Linked DNA regions of Homo sapiens: region 1 is linked to region 2. Evidence: promoter capture Hi-C in 16 types of primary human blood cells and fetal thymus (Javierre and others, 2016). All regions are on one chromosome and are shown on one strand. The core of a region is centred on a gene start or on the middle of the fragment in contact, and the rest is flanking DNA. Distances in the headings are between cores, read along the strand shown. Region 1 overlaps CDH6 (cadherin 6). Region 2 holds the start of CDH10 (cadherin 10).

Region 1 (5,040 bases), core at 1,242-3,741, 6.6 Mb after region 2:
GAGATAGCATCTCACTCAGTCACCCAGGCTGGATTGTAGTGGCAAAATCTCGGCTCACTGCAACCTCCCCTTCCCAGGTTCAAGTGATTCTCCTGTCTCAGCCTCCCAAGTAGCTGGGATTACAGGCGCCCACCACCACGCCCAGCTAATTTTTGTATTTTTAATAGAGACGAGGTTTCACCATGTTGGCCAGGGTGGTCTCAAACTCCTAACCTCAGGTGATCCGCCCACCTTGGCCTCCCAAAGTGCTGGGATCACAGGCATGAGCCACTGCGCCCGGCCCAGAGTACTTATTTCTGATGGCATACAAGTGATCATCTCTTCAAGTAATCAGCCGCTTTCTTTTCTTGGAAGAGGAACCCAGGGCACAGAGAGGTTGTGCGACTTGGCCATGTTCACACAGCATATTAGGGAAGTTCACAACCAGAGTGCAGTTCTCCTACTTCTTGTCCCTTTTTGCCTCCTCTCCCAGGGTCCCCACCTCCTTCCTACCAACACGAGAAGAAAACGGTCAGTTCAAACTCCTCTTGAACATGAAATGCTTTTACAAACTAGGAACACAAATTCGTCGTTTTTGCTATTTTCAGAAACTGTTTGGGACTGCAAATACGTTGTGAAAAACTAGGCTTTTGAAGATGAGACAGTGAAATCCCACTATCCTCATTATTATGCAATCAAATCACTCTGTGAGACTAATTAAGGATTTTGAAGTATGTTGTGTTTCTCAGAATCAAATGTGAAGAAAGGTGGTCTCATGGCTTTCATAAGAAAGGGCTGAGCCTGTTCCAACCATATAAGGGCAAAGCCTGAAAATGACCCATCCCTGGAAGCTGCTCAGCTTCTCCTAGCACCACACATCGGGTTACAGCAGACACACTCCTCTTAAAACAGGGCTCCTCAAACTCCAAAGCACACAAATCTCCCTGCCTAGCTGATGCTCGGAAAGAAGAGTGGAGGTATCTCCTCACCCTATCCCACTTCACCCCCTTTCTGAAACTAAGTTGGGCGAGAGACAAGGAAAGGAACGTACGGCGGGAAAGCACCTCCGCCCGTCAAACCACATTCTCCCAAACCCTCCTCACCCTCTCCTCCACTCCACGGTGGACGTGGAAGACAATCTACTTGGGCTTTGGGATACTTTACATATTTTCATTATGTACCCTTTCAACTGATATTTTTTATTTGCCCAGTCCCATATACTGTATACAAGTATAGAAGTACATTAATATAATAAGCATAATATAATAAATAAACAAGCATATACATTTTGAAGTTATTTGCTTTATAGTTTTTGGGAGTTCAGAAGAGAAATATTTCCTGGCTTTTTCCCAGCGTTCTAGAATAGAATGTACACCTCCCCCTCCCTAGCAGTGCATCAGAGGCAAACACCCTAGTTCTTCAACCTCTTCCTAAAACCTCACAGATCAAGGCTTCTGCCAAGGTTCCTCCAGAATTTACATCCTTTTGGCCTCCAACTCCAATTTTATTCTGTAAAGAATCAAATATAGCTTCCCTGTCAGCCACAAGCTGTGGCCGTGCTTCTCAGATATTCCCTGCTCATCAACATGCCCAGTCTCCATGCTCCATCCCACCTCCTGAGGGAACGGACCCCTACCTTAACCATCCTACATCTAAACAAACGAAGCTTAAGAAACCCAGAAAAGACAAGGAACCAGTATTAGTTGCTTCTTGCTGCTGCAACGCACACCACAAAACACATTACCACAAAACAATACAAACTTATTCTCGTACAGATTTATAGGTCAGAGGTCAGAGGTGATTACAGTGGGCTAAAAATCAGCCTGTCGGTGTGCTTGTGTTCTTTCTACAGGCTCTAGAGGAGAAGCCACTTCCTTACCATCCCCAGCTTCCAGAGGTCACCTGTTTTCTTGGCCCCTTCCGCCATTTTCAAAGCCAACAGTGTAGCATGTTTAAATCTCTCTCTCTTTGTCTCGGACTCATGCCTCACTGTCCCATCTTCTCTGACCCACCTGCCTCCCTCTTTTAAGGTCTAAGGACCTTTGTGGTTATATTGGACCCACCCAGATGATCCAGGATAATCTCCACAGCTCAAGATCCTTAACCATATCTGCGGTCTCTTTTGCCATGTGAGGTATTAATAACATAGTTCTGTGGATTGGGACGTGGGCATATTTGGAAGGCCTTTGTTCTGCCTGCTGCAGATCCCCAGTGCCAAGGTTCAGGAAGTGAATCAGCTGGAGAAGGAAGCTGCATTCACCTTGATTCCAAACTTTGTGGAATGGAGAAAAGTATGTCCCAGGGTCAGACACCCATGGACTCCCACCCCAGCTTTGCCAATAACCCAGTTGTACAATCCTAGGCAGTGGTCCCCAACCTTTTTGGCACTAGGAACTGGTTTTGTGGAAGAAAATTTTTCCACAGATGTGGTGGGGTGAGCAGAGGATATGGTTTCAGGATGAAACTGTCCCACCTCAGATCATCATGCGTTAGCTACATACTCATAAGGAGCACGCAACCTGCATCCCTCACATGCGCAGTTCACAATAGGGTTCGCCCTCCTATGAGAATCTAATGCCTCTAATACAGGAGGCGGAGCTCAGGCTACAATGCTGGTTCACCTGCCACTCACCTCCTGCTGTGTGGCCGGGTTCCTAACAGGCTGCAGACTGGTACTGGTCCATGGCCCCAGAGGTTGGGGAACCCCTGATCTTAGGCATGTTATTTGATCTCTCCAAGATTTATTTCCTTTCCTGTAATGTGGGGAAAATAATGCATCTCTCATAGGGCATAAAAAGTACAAAAGTACCTTATATAATGATAGACTCTTAGTAGATGTTCAATACAGGTTAGTTCTTTCTCCATTCTGACACTGACAGGTCTAATTACCCGTCATACTAACTAGCACTTGCGTGCCATTTCCAAGGGTACCAACTGCCCAAACTATATCATTTTATTTAATCTACAACACAGCCCTCAAGCTCTACCCGATTCTCCAAAACCTGAGTCCGATCAAGGTGAAGAGACTCAGTCAGTGATAAAGGAAGAAAGGGCAAAACAAAGACTGCAAGCCTACTGGTTTGACTCCAAATCTGGTGCTTTACTACCCTGGCTAACAGACCTCTTGTTATCCAGTTCTGGTCACCATACTGGTTAGAAATTAAATGTTTGGCCAAAATAGATTGGAGGGTAGGAAATGAAGCATATTGCCTGTTATCTTTGTGAAGTTTGCAGAAAAGCAAAACAGAATGAGGAACTGGAGGCTCAGGAAAATATTTTCTCTCTGGAGCTGTTAGGCATTTGTAACAAGTTGTTAAGGCAGCTTGGCTCTTACGACTGTATGGCTGGTGCCAATTTGGAAGCTTTTATAGGTCTCTAGTTCCCCTGATATTATTGGCTAAACCAATAAGTGGTTAATTTTTTTATGTAAAAAGAATTCTAACTCTGAAAACACTTGTGAGAATTCAAGAAACTCCGGAGTCCCACCTAAGGATTTTTTAGTGAAAGAATGAATTATGACAAAGAGAAATGCAATTGTGGACCATCATAGTAGCTGAATAAACATTTCTCAGTACTTAATGTCACAGAACATAGGAAGAAGTTTTGTGTTTTTGTTGTTGTTGCTCTTAATTGGGATTATTAAGGAGCAGCATAATTACGGGCTGAGGCTTTTTGCCCTTGGTGACGTAAGGGACTTTGCTCTCCATTCTCCTGGCTGGTGATTATCAGGCCAGTGACTTGGATCCTGGTATGACAATTAAGATTGAGTAGTGTCATCTGTTTCATAATTAAATTCTATCTTCCATATCCTTTGAATGCTGTATGGGCGTTTAATTGGCGGATGCTATTTCTGCTGCCACTGTGGCGTGTCTGAACAACAAAGTCAAAATAACAGTGATTCCGCTCCTTGCAGAATATCCCAGTTGAAGAGAATTTGCTTTCTCTTTGGCACAGAAAGAGCCCTGAAGTCCCAATTTAGACACAGCAGTTAAGAAGTTGAGGGCCTCTGAATTCCTGCAGGTTCTCACTCAAGGTGATATTTAGGGTCTACCATTGCAAATTAAAAGATCAACTTAACTTGCATGGGAGAAAAGTCATCTCTGTCCTGTAGATGACTTCTCCAAAGACATAGAGAACTCACTAGGGGATCATACACAGGTTTGTCTGTATAACCATCACAGGCAGAGAATATCTTTTTTTAAAAGTCTGGCTCATTTTCCTTCACTTACTAGAAAAAGAGTCTCTGAGAGTATGTATTAAAGTATTTATGTTAAACACCGTTAAAATACACTTCCAGTGTATTTATTAACAGAGAATTCAGAAGCATTAGGCCTCCTCTACAGATGTATCTTCCTGTTGCATCTTTAAGAAAGCAGCGGAAGATGTTTAAGACCATGAGTAATGTACTCAGTGAAAAATGAGAAAAGAAACTTATAGGCAAAGCAAAGAGAAACAAATCCTCCGTGCAAAAATGAAAATGCTATTTTTTTAAAAACTAACCTATGATTTAGAAACCATCTGCAGAATAATCTTGATTGTGTCCTCAAGTAGAACAACAAATCCATTGAGTTTAATCAAACTCAAAATAATTCTAAAGAGAAATTAGAGATGTATACAAAAGAAGCTAAACAATACAGTATAGCATCCAGGTAAAAATATTATATGCTAATTAATAAACAATTGTAGGGGACTTCATGAACTGTGAATGAAAAGATTAGTGTGAATCTTTATGCAAAATGCTTAAATCCATGTTAAGACGAACAAACTCTTTAAAATGTAAAACCTACACATATAAAAATATGCAGGAAACACAATATGCTCTTTTAAATATTCTTCTAATCACATGATTATATTTTAATTATAGTTTTCATTTGTTGAAAGTATATTCAAATGCAATATTTTTCTTTTCTTCTGGATAACAGTCTTCACTGCCTTATTTTCATCTTAGGGTGATTCAGCCTATAATGATTTAGAGGCCAAATGTTCAAACTCTTTTTAACAGATTACTCACGATGCAATTAAAATTAAATTATGTGCATAAAATTGATATTTTAATCAAAT
Region 2 (5,511 bases), core at 1,849-4,348:
CATAGACCTGAAATTTAGAGATCAAATATCTGCATAAAATTACTTATAATTGGCATAAATAATTTTACTGTTTTTCTATTTATAATTTCAGTATTTTACAAGTACTTCTAATGTGACAGCAGTATTAGAATGTAATTTGCATAGTAGAAATCAGAATATAATATGGCTAATGCTTTTAATACCCAAGGGCTACACTAGAGATAGTTGGGTTTGCATCACTGGTTTGTATTAATTGCTTACTATGAAACACTATTACTGATAATAACACTTAACAAGAATATGGTTCACTTTGCTGCTGATTCAGCATCATCAGAGCCAATACTGCTGCTGTGCTGCAGCCTAGTGGAATGATTTGGTATAAAAATGACATATTCCAGTAAGACGTGTTATCACTTACTGCAAAGTAGGTTAAGAGACATAGGAAATCAGTCATAAGCACAGAAATCCCCCAGATAGTATATACTTTGCCTCAGTTATTTGCTTATATAAAAAATTAAGTAAAGGTCAAGAAATTCACCCTATTTTTTATGCAAGATTCATATATTTTGGAATTAACCTTTCCAGTTTCAAGTAGTCTATTTTTCAACAAGAAAAAAAACATACCTCTTCCAGATTACACTAACTTTGTAAATAACGTGTCAGAAATATCACTCTAAATTAAAATCAGTTTTGTATCCTCTCTTTTTCTTTTTTAAAGAAAATCCCAGTGTGGGTAAAAATCTAACAATGAAATATTAAATTGATTACCTGCATAGCACTGTTCTAATTAATAAACAGTTTCTATAAACATCAAGGAACATCACCTAGAGCATTAATCAGGTACCAAACAATTTAACCATTGACTTCACACATATGCATATGTAGGTGGATGCTCATACAGTTTACCTTCTTTTTTCCCATTTCCCAGAGATTTTGGTTTTGTTTGTTGTTTTTTTTCCCCCAAACCTTTAAGTGTATGAAATTCTATTCTTTGATTGAAGTCAGGGAAGGCGTATGCATTCACCAGAGAAGTCAATTTGTTCACAGCAAGTATTTGAAACCCAAGAAGTATCTGATTTAATGAAAGCAGACATTGACTCACACTTTAATAACACAGCCAAAAAAAAAAAAAGTGAAAGAAGTATTTCTTTATATTTTTATCATCAGAATGGGTTTGCATCTGACGTGTCCCTAAGGCACAGATCCACGCTGTTTACACCTGTGCACTCTCCAGTCTCTTCACCACATCCCTCCCCAAATAAACCATTACTTCCTTATGCATTGCACATTGAATACATATGTGCCACATTTAGTACACTCGGGGGAGCGGGGTGCAGATTATCTATGCGACTTAGCATTTACCTGTGTTTCTAGGACATAACCTCTTTCTTTCTTCTTCATCACTTTTAACTAAAAATGAACATACGGCTCTGTCAATGACATAATGTTTTCATGAAAGTTCTACTAATTAAAAATCCTCACCATACCAGACCTAAAAAATGAGCACACTCTTGCCAAGTGTTATTCACCACAGAGAAGCTCTTGTAGCTACGTTTTAAAGGAAGATAGAGAGGGGGATGGTATGGAGGGAGAAAGTCTACTAACATATGCATTGAAGTATAACAGTTGTCAACATCAGAAGGACAGATTATTTTTAATACAGATCCTTCAAGAAAAAAAAAAAGAGGAGAAAAAATAATGTATCTCCAAAGAGCTGAGAAGTAATGGATGTGCAGTTTTGGATAATAGAAGCTTTCACTGGAATGAAGGAATGAAGGACCACAATTATAGGAAACATCTGTTTTTTCAAAGCAAAAGATGATAGGTCATTTTTAAAACAATATTTGTCTTTGTACCTGTAGACTCCCCTTTTTTCATAATAAGGAGACAGTAGGTTTTTATTTTAGTGGCATAAAAACAATTTCAGACTACTGCTTTTGCCCATAGTTACAGTGCTATCAATAGTTACTTGTTGGGGACATGCATTTATACTTGCAATATGCTGCATTAATTTAACAACACATAAAATATGGATTTTATTGCAGCAGAAACAATAAATGCTGCAACTGCTGACTACATGCATTTACTCTCCCTCTCTTTACCTCTCTCCCCCCAATACTTCTGACTCAGATATAAAATTGAAAATAAGAATTCTGCCTATTCTATTTCTGATGAATGTCAATCTATTGTATTTATGTAGATGCTTAGTGACCATTGACAGTTTCAAGGAATCTGTCTTCTGCCTGTCATTTCTGTTTATATTGAACGTACAATGAACTATGACTACGAATAAGTGCAGAGTGAATCCATTCATATGGAATGCAAAGTAATGTTAGATGATGTTAGAGTTCACAGTAACAATGTTATCTCTTGAACTGATTTTTAAAATAAAAATGAACAAGTCTGGGCATGACAAATTCACTTCATAACATATTTTTTAGCATTTGTTCCAAGTGAATGAATTCACAAACTCTAATATCATGACCCACTGTTGAGCATAATATATAATTTATCCAGCTTTACATTGCCTATATAGATATTCGAAGCAGTTGTTTCTAGAATTAAATATATAGAGTTGTATGCTTATTTAAGTATTAAAGATAATTATTTTGAAATAATTGCTAAACACAACTTAAAAACAAACATTTATCTCCTCCCTCTCCCCCCCCACCCCTCAAGTGGAGGAATATATAATACCTTAACGGAGTTAAAAGAAAGAGGTGAAGTCTTCCTACCTTTTTTATCAGCTTCTGGATAATGGAAGTTGGTTCCAGCCAAAATAACCCAGGAGAAATTGTCACTATGTCCCCTTTTTGTTTGTTTTCGGCTGTTATTTTCTATCACTGATTCTACTTCAATCTAACTCAAGCTCTTTCTCAGCATCACTTTTAACTCTGGACAGCAGGGAACCGAAGAAAACGGGGGCGAGCTCTCTCTGATTGGCTTTCATTCAGTGCTTCTGATTAAGGGGAAAGGAAAAAAAAAAAAAAGGAAAGGGGGGAAAAAAGCTCTTCCTCACACGGAGAGAAAGGTTCTGCTGATAGAGCTGCAGCACTCGCCATGGGAAGGTTAGAGACTGTGGAAGTGCTGGCTTCTGCGAGCACACAGCGATTTGCAAGTGAATGCGAGGGGAGGGCGCATCCGAGAGGAGGGCTTTGCTTGAAAGGCGTCCCCTCCCCCGCAGGGCAGAAAGACTCTCTGTTTCAAGGCTAAGGTAATCAGCCCAATCTAATCCGCCTGTGTCCGTAATACAATCTCAGGAACAGGACTGCTTCTTGCAATTTTTTTTAAAAAAAGATAGTTCTTCTGGAATATATATTCCTGCACCGTCCTTACACCAGACTACCGAAATCCAAGTATTATCAGAGCGCCAAGTCAAATTGCAACCAGATTTGATATGTTACCAGAGTGATTTTTCGTTGTGATTTTAAATGTTTATTTTTTGCTTTCAGGGAACTTTCTCGGCTTGATTTTCCAAATCCCTTCTCTTGTTGCTTATTGTCACAGGAGTGCATACCTCGCTCATCATTTTGGAATGTCCGCGAGCCAGTCTTCTCTGCCTAATCTTTGCATTTTAATACTTTATAGATAAAATATTTTATTAAAAATGTAAATATGTAATTAGTGTTATTAAAATATTTAGACTTTGAACTTGACACAGTCTCCTTTTTTTTCTTTTTAACGTTGTTTTTTCTCATAAATACGGGTTTCATACCCAAATGAGTGTGTGGACAGATGTAAATACATTTGGATTGTTCTATCTACTTAAACATCTAACTGTCTCGCTATTTATCAATCTCCACATCAAATTGCAATCAACCAAACCTTACCAAAGGATGTCAGTATAGCTCCACAAAGTAATTAACATCTTTGCATTTTTCCGGCTACAGGTAGATTCCTTTTAAAGTGCCATCCATAAATAAATTATATACACATATACATACATATATGCATATAAATACATATATGTCAATTATAGTTTTAAAGCTAGAGGAGAAATTACGAAGATCATTTTGGGCTGTTATTATTATTATTTCTTTAGCAGATAAAAATGCTCAGAATGTTAAATTGTCACAGGACTAACTGGAGGCGGGGTCAAAGCTGTAATACCACACTCCTACTTCCAGTTTAGTATTGTTTCCGGTTGCCATACTGCCTCCTCTGTACCTGTTTGATCATTCTAACAGTCAACAGGCCCCTTACATAATCAGCACAATGAAAAAGGAAGAAACTCAATCTGAGGGGCAAAAAAGAAGTGAGAGGGAGATTCAAAATTAGATTCCAAAAAGGTTTTAATGTATCACAGTGTTATTATATGATGAATTTTACCAATTAGTTTTATATTTGAAAACACCAAACATTTCCACTGAGCTGAACAGCTAAATGACATTTAGAGCAGAAATGGACTTTTGAAACTCTTAATTTTACAGACGATGGCATTAAGATCAGGAAAATTTTATGGCCCCTCTAAAGTTTGATAATAATAGAGCTAGAATTCTGAATTATCACCGTATCATTTGCCCATAGTTTTTGTTATGTTTTGTATGTTTTCTTCGACAGGGTGCCTTAATTTCAGAGTCAAGTGAAAATAGATATTCAGTTTTTTACCTCTGATACGTATATTTGTGTGTATTTGTGTTTGCCTGGTATATGTGTGTATTCAATATAATACTGTTATTGACATGTTAAATTAGCTATCAAGAGAAATTTATAATATTTAATTAAATGCAGCAGGTTAGGTACACACACACACATTGTTCTCTTATTAAATTAACTATTTCCATATGTTTGTTTAGTGCTAATTTCAAAATGTATGACTACATAATGTGAAGAATTTGGGGGTTACATTTAAATGGGTCGAGAAAATAACCAAAGGCTAAGATCTGAGGTAAATTGCTATTTTATTAATTAGAATACATGTTGAAATGATGTATTCCCAAAATAACATTTTCTGAATTATATAGTTTATGCTTCTCTTACATAGGTTTTTGGTTGGTGTGTTTATTCTGCCCTGTCTAGTCATCAGAAACTCAGCTTCCTTCTGTCTTGATGCTCAATGTTTTTAAGGAATTGAACTCATTTATATGATCCAGGAGAGATCACCACACATCTACCTTCTAGAAAAAGGAATAAAAGGAACAAGAGAAAGTTGCTCCCGTCCTTTGAAAAATGTGACCCTGAACATGTACATGTCACTTTCATGATCTCATTGGGTGGAATTTAGACACTTGGTCACACATTGTTGCTAGGGAGGCTGGGGATGTGGTATTTACTCTCACTATTTGCCCAGCTAAAGTCACTGGTGCTATTAGGGAGGTGACAGAATTGGGTACAAACAGCAGGATTGTCTATTATATTCATGTATTATAGAGTAGTATATTTGGTATAATGTACTTTTTTGGAGAAAAGCAAATTTTTATTCTAGTTTAAAATTAAAATTATGTTATAATGCTAGTGAAAGGTATCTATACAAAATAACGTTAATAATATTTTAACATTTATGAAACAATTGTCAGTTATTGCATTTTTTCT

The links. Contacts are between HindIII fragments. The CHiCAGO score rates a contact against its expected background, and 5 or more counts as called.
Region 1: a contact is called between a fragment that was not itself captured here and the fragment with the promoter of CDH10 in region 2, in 1 of 17 cell types (endothelial precursors). The highest score is 5.4, in endothelial precursors.

What each region holds. Positions count from the first base shown.
Region 1 is chr5:31,226,193-31,231,232 of GRCh38, forward strand. The region is part of intron 1 of CDH6 (cadherin 6); the gene reads left to right. Among named protein-coding and RNA genes, the nearest start is that of CDH6, 35 kb to the left of the region's middle. The HindIII fragment of the contact is 1,696 bases long and covers 1,644-3,339 here.
Region 2 is chr5:24,641,880-24,647,390 of GRCh38, forward strand. CDH10 (cadherin 10) reads right to left here and starts at 3,099. Exons shown (of 12, transcript NM_006727.5): 1 at 2,715-3,099. LOC124901174 (a long non-coding RNA gene) reads left to right here and starts at 2,830. Exons shown (of 2, transcript XR_007059125.1): 1 at 2,830-3,193; 2 at 3,432-3,635. RefSeq lists an enhancer at 2,796-3,391. The HindIII fragment of the contact is 4,637 bases long and covers 1,730-5,511 here.